Linked DNA regions of Homo sapiens: regions 1 and 2 are each linked to region 3. Evidence: promoter capture Hi-C in 16 types of primary human blood cells and fetal thymus (Javierre and others, 2016). All regions are on one chromosome and are shown on one strand. The core of a region is centred on a gene start or on the middle of the fragment in contact, and the rest is flanking DNA. Distances in the headings are between cores, read along the strand shown. Region 1 has its middle 24 kb from the start of RNGTT. Region 2 has its middle 3.5 kb from the start of SRSF12. Region 3 holds the start of RRAGD (Ras related GTP binding D).

Region 1 (3,972 bases), core at 1,130-3,629, 430 kb after region 3:
AGTCTTTTCTTTCCCCTTCTCAAGAGTAGATGCAGCTGTTCTCAGTTTAATATCAGAAGAGAAAGAATGATGTAAACAATGATGGTATAATAATACATGAAGAAAACCAATAAAAGGGTAAAATCACTGCAATCCTATAATCTTAATACTTAACAATTTTTATTTTCACGTAGTTTTCTTCTAACCTAAGGTCAATATTATTTGGACAATGATATACATAAAATTTAAGGCTTAACTGTCAACCATATGTTTAAAAGTACTTTCAGTGCCAGGTGCGGTGGCTCACACCTATAATCCCAGCACTTTGGGAGGCTAAGGTGGGAGAATTACTTGAGGCCAGGAGTTTGAGGCCAGCTTGGCCAATATGGTGAAACCCTATCTCTACTAAAAATATGAAGATTAGCCAGGTGTGGTGGCATGTGCCTGTAATTCCAGCTTCTTGGGAGGCTGAGGCATGAGAATCGCTTGAACTCGGGAAGCAGAGGTTGCAGTGTGACAAGATCGCACCACTACACTCCAGCCTGGGCGACAGAGCGAGACTCCATCTCAAAAAAAAAAAAAAAAAAAAAGAGAGAGAGAGATTTTTAGTTGATTTATAGTGGCTAATCACATTTTTTAAAAAAGTATGATATAACATGATTTGTGAGCAAAATTAATGTTTTTATCTTCAGATTCAATGAATCTTCTGAGCAGCACACACACACATATGCTGGACATTCATTTTACTAATTATCTCATTAAAAAAAAAACAAAAATAAACATTTGTGGAGAAGCCCCATTTTGGCAGTCTGTGTTATAAGGACTGGAGATACGGCTGGGATGAAAACAGACAAAATCCTCTTTCTCTAGAAGGGAAAAATAGGCTATAACAATCACAGCAAACACAAAATGGTTTTTTTTCCATGTGCTTTACATGTATAAACTCATTTAGTTCTCCTAACCATCCCATGAAGTAGGTGCTATCATTATCTCCATTTTATAGGGGAGGGAACCAGTGCACAGAAAGGTTAAGTAACTTGATGAAGTTGCACAGCTAGTGAGCATTAGAGCTAGGATTTGAACCCAGGCATGTGGCTCCACAGGCTACACGCTTAACTGCTATGCTATTCTTTCTATAATTAGCTCCTCTATTCTATGTATTCTGGTGACACAAGGAACCAAAAGTTTTCCTTTTCCTTTCTCAAATATTTTCAGTTTTTGCTTCAGATATTTAACTATTTGAACGCTAGGGCCAGGTGTGGTGGCTCTTGTCTGTACTCCTAGCACTTTGGGAGGCCCAGATGGGAGGATGGCTTGAGCTCAGGAGTTTGAGGCCAGCCTGGGAAACATAGTGAGACCTTGTCTCTACAAAAAATTTAAAAAGCTAGCTGGGTGCATTGGCATGCACCTGTAGTCCCAGCTACTGGGGAAGCTGAGGTGGGAGGATCACTTAAGCCCAGGAGGTAGAGGCTGCAGTGAGCTGTGAATGAGCCACGGCGCTCCAGCCTGGGCGACAGGCAAGACCCTGTCTCAGAAAAAAAAAAAAAAAAATCCAGACACTTAAAATCACAGTTGCTCTTAAAAGCATAGCTTTGATTTAGATTGACCTGGAATAAGTTCCATGTCTGTCACTCAGTAGCTGTGTGATTATGAGCAAGTTTCTAAATCTCACTAAAGTTCTCTTTCCTCATTAGTAAATGAAAATAATCGTTTACCTCCTAAGGCTGTTGTGAGAATTGAGGATAATATGCATGAAAATCATTTGATCCTGGCACAAAGTAAGTGCCCAATGAATGGTTACTTTTATCCAGTCATACATTCATTCAATCAGCAAATATTTGTTGAGCATCTGCTATGTTCCAGGTATTGTTCTAGGTACCGGGGATATAGCAGTGAGTAAAACAGACAAAGATCTTGCTCTCAAAGCAATTCCATGGCTTTTTAGCCTTAATAAAATGTGCTTAATCTTATTAAATTTGTTTATATTAATTAAATTGTAGTTTAAATTTCTATTTATTTTTTAATTAAATTGTGTGGTATATAGTTATTTAAATGCATTTAATATTATTTTTAAAGCATTAGTAAAGTTTGTTTAATCAGTTATTCCCTCTTTTCTCCACTGGCTTTTTGTCATAGTCACTTAAATGTAATCAAATTTCTTTTATATTTATTTCTTTTCTTTTTTTTTTTTTTTGAGATGGAGTTTCGCTCTTGTTGCCCAGGCTGGAGTGCAATAGCATGATCTCGGCTCACCACAACCTCCGCCTCCTGGGTTCAGGCGATTCTCCTGCCTCAGCCTCCCGAGTAGCTGGGATTACAGGCATGCGCCACCATGCCTGGCTAATTTTGTATTTTTAGTAGAGATGGGGTTTCTCCATGTTGGTCAGGCTGGTCGTGAGCTCCCAACCTCAGGTGATCCACCCGCTTTGGCTTCCCAAAGTCCTGGGATTACAGGTGTGAGCCACTGCACCTGACTTATTTCTTTTATTTATTTATTTTTGTTTTTTAATAGAGACAGGGTCTCGCCATGTTGCTCAGGCTGGTCTAGAACTCTTGAGCTCAAGCAGTCCTCCTGCCTCAGCCTCCCAAAGTGCTGAGATTACAGGCATGAGACACCATGCCTGGCCACATTTCTTTTATATTAAAAAATCCCTGAATCAACCCTTTGACTTCAAGTTAGCTGACAGTGGCTGCTTTAGTTCCTTGCTCCCTTTGCTATAGATATTATCTCACTCACTGTCTCCACTCTCTAGGTTGACTTCATGACTTCTCATTCATACTCCAGAGCACTGGAAGCAGTCTCTTGTTTCTTGTGGAGAGGTCACGTTATGGCAGGCTGTGTTCTAAGGACTGGAGATATGGCTGGGATGAAAACAGACAAAATCCTCTTTCTCTAGAAGGGAAAAATAGGCTATTGCTGTAAACAATAGGTATCACTCTCAACAAGGTCACCCCCTTCCTTAAAACCATTCAATGACTCCATATTTACCTCAGTGACTCATGTTTACTTGATGAAGTTGCACAGCCCCAGATAAAGTCCAAACTCTTTAAAGTGGCATGTGGGCATGTTCCCTCCCTCCCTAGCCTTCCCTCCCACCATTCCCTTTTCTACCTCCACTCCCTCCCCTGCTCACTGCCCCAAACACACACACACACACAGTTCCCATTCTATAGATGGGCTTGACATTGCCCAGAAGTACCATACTTTTATCTGTAAGCAGTGGTGTTCTAGAGTTGATTTGTGTGGGAGTGTGAGAGCGTATGGTGCATGTCTCTTCCCAATTGCATGTTCAGTGAGGTCATGGTGGGAGTAAATCAAGGAAACTGGCAAAATCTACAAATTAGGGCATTCTTGCTTCTCTCTAGAGAGTTATTAAACATTTACCAGCTCACCATAGCCCCTAGGCCTTTGCATTTATGGCCCTTCCCCTACCCTAACTTGGCCCAGCTTAAATGTCCCTTCCTCCTGGGAACTGTGTTTTGACTCTTCAGGATTGGGATAGATACCCTTCACTGTGATTCTTTGGTAACTTGGGCAGCGGCCCCACTATTTTTCCCGTATTCTATACTGGCCAAGTAAAGTCCTTGAGGTCAGGGCCCTTGTCTTGTTCATTGTTGTTCTTGTCTACCTAGGATAGTGTTTGGCACATAGCAAGGTGCTAAACTATATTTTTAAGTGAACCAATACATGAATAATTAAAGTAAGCCCTCCCTACTAATAATAGGCTTTTTATGGTTCAAGAATGTGCCTTAATCTTTGTATCTCCTGAAATTCCTCACACAGAGAAAGTTTAGTAGATGTTTGAATAGATTGAATGGACTAGACTTGAATGTGCTTTATATGAGCCTAAAACTAGGGCCCAATTTAAGATATCCATTCTAGAAGTGAGTCAATGATATTTGAGATTATGATTCTATAGAACCAAAACCTGGAGTATTGAAATATGTCACCAGAAACTTAAGATTTTCCCTGGCCATTAATTTGCCTTGATT
Region 2 (3,585 bases), core at 342-2,841, 290 kb after region 3:
GTAAACATATTATGGTAAAGAAGTACATCATTATGGCAAAAATCTCACAGGATGGATGAAAACGACTTAAGTTTGGGAAACAATGGACTAGGTCCTTGAGAATTAAGGAGCATAACTTCTATTTTCATCCCCAGTTCCTAGCACTGTGCTTCACATACAATAGATCAACACTAAGCAAATGGCAAATTAATTAGAAAGAAACACCCCCCCAAGATTTTCAATACCCAACATCATTTTAGGGAATATACAGGAAAAGTGACAGGCCTTCTAAGTTGACTTTTCTGAAAAAGTTAGTTTGATCCCTCCTAGTTACATTATTATCACACAAATGACCTTTTTAAAAACATGATTTCTTATGGCTATAGCAGAAGAGATCAAATTCATAAAAGGATACAATCATAGATTCTCCAACTGATTGTGTGGAATGATGATGTCTTATAAACCAAAGTACATAGGTAATAGAAAAATGTTTACAATGTGTTCTATACAAATCCCCACATCACTCTTCATGGTTTGTTTTAAGAAAGGATAGGCCATGGCAGCTCTCACTAGAGGAAAGCTAGCACCATCTGTTGGAGAGTGAGTTCACAACATAAAATGATATTCTCTGTTGACTTCATTAATCCTGACACTGTTTCTTCAAGGTACTTTTTAATCACACAAATTTCAAGACACTAATACCTACCTAAATACAATTTAATTTTCAATTAGTTCTAGTTATCCACTATGACAGTAATAAACAAAACTAGTTAATTAATCTGATTAAGATATTAATCAGATGTATTGTTTAATGCAGTTAAAATATTAATCAGTCTTTTACTATTTGACTTCTTGATTAGACCTGATAATTAGCCCATTCTGAGCCATTTAAGAAATGGAAGAAAAGCTTATTCAACCACATACTCTATCAGATTGCTTTAGAATAACAAATATCGTATGTATTGCTCAACATTGTAAACCTGCCTCAACTTCTTGATTATCCATGGTAATTAGGAAGAAATAGTGACAGCCTTGAATTGTGAACTTTACTAATAACCCAAACTCTTCTCCCACAAATCTACTGATGATATTGAGAGGTTTGTGCTTCTCCTGTACCATTCAGAATAGATGTTTCTAAGAGACAAAAAGAATGTAAGAGATAGTCAGCTCAGACTATGTGCAGGTAGGTAGAGATAAGAGGAAAGTCCTAAGTGTTTAGATTCTAAATGACAGTAAGTTATTGTCATATCAGCAATTTCCCCAAAGACAGGATTCAGGAGTAAACAACCAAACATTATAAATAGATTCACATGTGGCTCTATTTTAAACACAACATAGACTACTAATTTTAAAGACTTGTAAAACTGAAAAGAGATTCTGAATTTTTCTTGCAATACACTTTATAAAACCGTGATTCCAATGAAAAAGTTTAAAATGTATTTACTTTTGAAAAGTCAGGTGATGATATCTAAATGAGATATGACACAGGTTTTCCTAAAATATTTTCAAATCAAAGTCTCTCTTAGGTGAAAACTTAAAAAGCATTTAATTGATCATAATTTTTTAAATGTATTAAATAAAAAGTAATGGAAGCAACAGTTACTTCGAAGAACAATATATGAAACTCTCATGTAAAAATGAGGCTTTTGTTATGGGAACAGTTGTCAGATTTGCCAGTGGTATACTCCTTGGGAATCCTCAGGCAATTTAAGAAAAACATTAACTCTCCTAAGCCTGGAGGGTACCATTTGGTGCCTTAAAGCAATGATTCAATAAAGCAATACTTTTGTTAAATGGCACTTAAGTTCTAGAACAAAGGGTAAATATGAATATGTTTATGAGTCCAGGGACAGGCAGGGTGTTTACTCTTGACCTAAGCCTTTCCCCTACCTCTTCAAGTATCCTAATCTGCCAAAGGGAAGACAAAATACAGCTTCATCAGTTACTCATCTCAACTGGTTTAAGGACCAGGGCAAGACACTGGCCAAGCTGACTGTAACATTCCTTAGTTGGCCGTGCCCGACGATGTTCTCTCCTTAGGCCTTCCAACCAGAAAACAGCTTTCTTACACTTTACACTAGCTGCCTCAAATCATATCTGGAAAAAAGAACATACGTTTTTATGTAATATAAATAATTATGGCTCCACAACTTATTTTATATCAATTCCAGCTACCTTTTAAGTTCAAGTTGCTAAGAGAAACTCCTTACACAGTTGAAGACCCTTTCCTCAGGTATTTCCATCAAAAGGAACAGAAAAAACACCCCCTATCCATACATGCATGCTAAGTATTTTTGGATACTCCTACAAAAGCTTTTTTCAAACTGTAAAGAGCTTTGTGGTTTTTTTCTATATTTATAAAAAGCATTAAAAAAATCTGACAATACTAAAAGATAAGAAGAAAGCAAGTATCAGAGTATAATACCTATACCTGAATAGGTAAAAATAGAATAGAAAAATTCTATTTATACATGAACATACAGATAAATTTATTTATTTATTTACAGACAGGGTCTTGCTCTGTCACTCATGCTGGAATGCAGTGCACTGGCACAAACATAGTTCACTGCAGCCTCCAACTCCTGGGCTCAAGCAATCCTCTTGCCTCAGCCACCTGAGCAGCTAGGACTACAAGCATGTGCCACCATGGTTGGCTAATTTTTTTTTTTTTAATTTTCTGTAGAGATGGGGAGATTCTCTTATGTTGCCCAGCTGGTCACGAACTTCTAGCTTGGAGCAATCTTCCCAACTTGGCCTCCCACAGCACCAGGATACAGGCATGAGTCACCACGCCTGGCCAATATATTTTTAACTAAATAGGTTAATCGTTTACATGTCTCATGAATTGATTTTTCTCCACTTAACAGTATGTCAGGGATGAGTAATTGTGACTACCCACCAGGTCAAGTTTCTTTTCTTTGGTCAAGTTTTTTATTTGCAAAGTCAATGTAGTGGTTTGAATGGCGGCCCCCAAAAATACATGTCCAAGTCCTATCTCCAGGTATGTATCCTTATCTGGAAAAAGAATCTTTGCAGATGTAAGTGAGGATTTCAAGATGAGATCATTCTGAATTAACCAAGTGGGCCCTAAATCCAACGACAAATGTCCTTATAAGAGATAGAACTGGATAGGATAGATGGCTGATATCATTTGGCTCTGTCCCCACCCAAATTTCATCTTGAATTGTTAGCTCCCATAATTCCCACGTATTGTGGGAGGGACCTAGAGGGAGATAACTGAATCATGGGGGCAGTTCCCCATACTGTTCTCCTGGTAGTGAATAAGTCTCACGAGATCTGATGGTTTTATAAGGGGAAACCCCTTTCGCTTGGCTCTCATTCTCTGTCTGCCACCATGTAAGATGTGCCTTTTGCCCTACACCATGATTGTGAGGCCTCCCCAGTCTTGGGTATGTCTTTATCAGCAGTGTGAAAACGGACTAATACAGTGGCTCACACCTGTAATCTCAACTTTGGGAGGCCAAGGCAGGAGGATCACTTGAGCCTAAGAGTTTGAAATCAGCCTAGGCAACATAGACTCCATCTAAAATAAAAAGAGAGAGAGACAGAGAAAGAGAGAGAGAAAGACAGGAGGCCATGTGAAGA
Region 3 (3,914 bases), core at 80-2,579:
CAGGACCTTTCCCATTAGAAGCAGCCACCTTCTGGAAAGTGTCTGCATCCACCTTCTGCACTCAGAAATACTAAAAAAAATCCAGGACATGAGTCATGATTTGGTAGACTGTGAGCTCCTTCAGGGCAGGAACACTGCCCTGAGCATTCTTGGACCCTCTACTTAGCCCAGCCTCAGGCATATAGGAGGTGGTTAATAAATGTTTCCTATGGAGGTTAGCACCCTTGGGCCCTGAGAGTCTCCTGCCCTAGCTTCCTCCCTCCGCTTCTGCACCGCACCACCGGCTGAGCTGCTGGCACCTGTAGGAGCTGGATCATCATGCTGACCGGCCGGTTTTTTCTTATTGTGCTCCACAGAAGGAAGTTCATCCACGTAATTTTTTGCAGTACCCAGAAAGGGTGGGTACAGTGTGTTCCGTGGTGAAAAGCTTGTGAAGGAGGAATGCAGGTTTTAGAGTCTCACTCCACGTTGCTGCTATTCCTATTTGAGAATTGCCCCCCCACCACCGCCACTCCCCTACTCCCACAAAAGCCTTGAAATATTTTATTCATGTGGGATTACAGTCTATGCAACAATGAGACATGAGGAGGTGGCCATGAATAGCCCCCGAGTGTGTTATACACTGAGACCTTTTCCAAAGGGCTGCAGAGGAATTATTTAGTCTAAGCAGCCACGAGTCATGTGATTTCTTCAGAAACATTTACGTCTGGGTAGGCCTGCTTTTTAAATATTCTTGGTGGGAAGCACTTTGAACCATAAAGGCACACTAAAAGACAATTGCTATGGAGACTGCGCCTCCACTGTGCATTTATCTGAGTTCTCCGCCTGGGGCTCTTGAGCGTCCACAGGGTGTCCTGGGCACGCTGCTCTGGGGTGGGGGATCTGGGCGCCACAGTGTTGGGAGGCCACCCGCTTGGGACCCTAGCTCAGGACTGTAAGCAGGAGGCATCCGCCCACGGTAGACGCTCTGCGGGCGTGTGGGAGTGGGACGGCGGGGGGGACATTGAGGGTGTGCGGCGCCCCCTCCCCTGCCTGTGCGGGGACCACGTGAAGGAGAGGCGCGTGGGGGCCCCTGGCGCGCAGCCGCGGTGGGTGACGGCCGGCGTCCCGGGGGCCCCGTGTACGGGGCGTGTGTCGGTGTGAGTCTGGGAGGGTGCAGGGGCCCCGCGCCTCCCCGGTCTCCTCGTGCGTGTGCGTGTGCGTGTGCATGTGTGTCCTCGGCCCAGCGCCCCGCCGAGTGGTGCCCGCGGCCGGGCGAGCGCGCGCGCGCCCGTGCGGGGTGTGTATGTGAGTATGTGACAGTGTGTGTCAGGTGACTCGGGTCACGCAGTCTCTCTCTCTCTCCCTCCTCCGGGAGGAACTGCCGCGCTCCGGCTGACTCCTCCGCCGGCGGGCGGGGCGGGGGAGGGGGCTTCGGGCGCGCTGGGAACCGCGGGACCCGGACCTGGGCGCCGCCCGCCGGGGGACGCGCGGCCCCCGCTTCCGCCGGGCCCCGCTGAGCTCTAGACAAACCTCCGCTTCAGAAATAGGCTGCGGGCGGCCGGCTAGGAGGCTTGGCCCCCACCCCGGGACCCCCGCCGTCCCCGGGCCGGCCGGCCGGTGGGCACGATGAGCCAGGTGCTGGGGAAGCCGCAGCCGCAGGACGAGGACGACGCGGAGGAGGAGGAGGAGGAGGATGAGCTGGTGGGGCTAGCGGACTACGGAGACGGGCCCGACTCCTCCGACGCCGATCCGGACAGCGGCACAGAGGAGGGAGGTGAGCGCCCGGCCCCCGCGTCCTCGGCTCGCGCCCCTTTCCTCCCCTTGGCGCCTTCCCGCCCCCAGCCCGGCCGTGCGCGAGCCACCGACTTGGAGGGGGTCCAGGGGAGCGGGTCCAGTTGAGGGTTTGGGGTGGGGAGGGACGCCAAAAGCCCGACCTCGAGCTGCCAAATGAGGGAGCGCGGTGCTGGTGGCGGAGGGGCAACCAGGATCGGTGGAAAAGGGGAAGGAGGGAGTAAGCGTCTGGGCTGGAGGAGCGCGCGCTTCTGCCCCTTTCAGAGCCGGTGCCTCCCGCGCCCCTCACCCCAAGCTCTCCGCAGCGTCTGGCGGTTGGGGAGGGGAGGGGACCGCGGGCGCGCCCTGGGACCTCTCTCCCAGAACGGTGCTGTTGAAGCCAGGGTCAGATGTCGTGGCTAAAAAAAGGCAGCCGGCGGCGGCGTGACTGGCAGGGTCGTCGGCAGCTGCGGGTGTCAGTCTCGCCCCGCGTCGCCGCGGGAGGGGCCCACCCAGGTAGTGGCTGGGGAGACCCGCGGGGCGGCGGGGGGATGCTCGCCAAGCTGTTGTGGGAGTCTCCGAGAGGCCGCAGATTTCCCGGGATCCACGCAAACACCGTTGTCAGGACACCTTATCTGCTCTCGGTATCACCACCTGGACATGGCAGTGCCTGCCCGGGAGTGAGCGCGCGGCGGGGAATTCTTTGCTTCAATAGTGAAGCAAACTCTTTTTCCTGTTCTAGAAGCGGGTTTTAGCAATCGTTCAGCTTGTGGGGGCTTCCTGCATTTTCTTAAGGTGTAAGGAAGTTGAGAGCCTTTTAGTATTCCAGAGAGGTTAAACTTTTTTTAGTTTCCCTCAGAAGCGAGCAAAAGTTCCTTTACTGTAAGGTCACTTGGAAAGGTCAATAGAAAGCGGCTGTTAAACATGATGTTATTCTCAGTGAAACTGTATGCATCCAAGAGAAGGAACTAACTTTAATGTTTCACACTGAAGAAATTGTGTGAGAGATACAAGTACCTTTGTGACTATTGATTTTTAAAGAACTTTTATTGAGAATTCACTGAACTTATTTTAAATTCTCTATGCAAAGCTTTTCTCACTAGGGTAGTTTCATTATTCTACATCTGGCAGGCACGACTTTCAATGAATCAGAAAGGAAATAAAGTTAACTATGCCTTGCGCCTGGTAGATGAGAAAGCAGCCTCTCAAGTCACCCTTTTTCATAGCGTTTTCTCTCTTGGGATGATTTGTGCTAATTCCTCATTTGCTTAAACTGATGTGTGCACCTTTGTGCTTTCTGTCTTCTGCACTCCCGGTAATTGGTCTTACCGTTGAGCACCAGGCCACATTTTTGTAGATAAAGGCTTTCAGCCGTTTTATTGGAGTCTCTAGAGCTACCTTCCGTAATTAAATTGTTCAGTCGCCTCATTATTATTCAAATTCCATTTGTTAGCTCCTCCCAGATTCTTAGAAGACTCCGGAGAGATGCAGAATAGGGATGTATTTGCAAGGTATTTGAAATGGTGGACACAGTAGGGTGTGTGTGGGATTCTCTTTTTTAAAAAAGAAAAAAAGTGGGGGGGCGGAGGGGCCATATCCAGGAGGGAAAGCCCTGTAATTTGATACTGTCCTGAGGCCTGGAGGGTCCAGAAAAAGTACTGGACCCCTCGTTTATTCTGCAGTTCTTTAAGTGGGCACTTTTAAAATTTGATTTGGGGACTTGAAATTGAAGTGAAATTAAAGCCCTGCTTGAGGGATGGGATTCCCGGAACAAAGGGCTTCCCCAGAGCCCAGACTTGGAGGCTCCTTAGCTGTTAACGTAAAGGCAAACTTGCCTGTAACTGATTTTTGGTGACTCGCATAATAAAATCCTTCTGAATGGGCTTTTGGGATCAGCTTGGGATCTTGCTATAAAAGGATTAAATATATTTATATTGTGAGAAGAGCAACATGTTTGCTCGGCAAACGTTGCTTAAGCCTGGTCTCTGTCCACCTGGGCCTGCAGTGGATAGGTGGTCTGCTTCTCAGACTTCCTCCGTTATATTTTGGCCTCTGTTCTTTCCAGATTTCCCTGGCTTTGACTTTTGGGTTTAGGCCTTGATGCAGAATCCCTTGTCAGGACATTTGCTCTCTAGTGTCAGATAGGCTCCTCAGTCAGCAAT

The links. The method cuts DNA at HindIII sites, captures the fragments that hold promoters and counts their contacts. A CHiCAGO score of 5 or more calls a contact.
Region 1: a fragment that was not itself captured here is called in contact with the fragment with the promoter of RRAGD in region 3 in 5 of 17 cell types (neutrophils, fetal thymus, naive B cells and 2 more); the score reaches 9.1 in neutrophils.
Region 2: a fragment that was not itself captured here is called in contact with the fragment with the promoter of RRAGD in region 3 in 1 of 17 cell types (fetal thymus); the score reaches 5.1 in fetal thymus.

What each region holds. Positions count from the first base shown.
Region 1 is chr6:88,985,154-88,989,125 of GRCh38, reverse strand. No RefSeq gene overlaps it. Among named protein-coding and RNA genes, the nearest start is that of RNGTT, 24 kb to the right of the region's middle. The HindIII fragment of the contact is 4,992 bases long and covers 1-3,972 here.
Region 2 is chr6:89,119,776-89,123,360 of GRCh38, reverse strand. It overlaps a transcript of PM20D2 not described here. Among named protein-coding and RNA genes, the nearest start is that of SRSF12, 3.5 kb to the right of the region's middle. RefSeq lists an enhancer at 457-586. The HindIII fragment of the contact is 1,406 bases long and covers 889-2,294 here.
Region 3 is chr6:89,409,688-89,413,601 of GRCh38, reverse strand. It overlaps RRAGD (Ras related GTP binding D), which reads left to right and starts at 1,329. Exons shown (of 7, transcript NM_021244.5): 1 at 1,329-1,756. The coding sequence starts at 1,609. RefSeq lists silencers at 913-2,102, 2,133-2,242, 2,273-2,372. The HindIII fragment of the contact is 2,415 bases long and covers 430-2,844 here.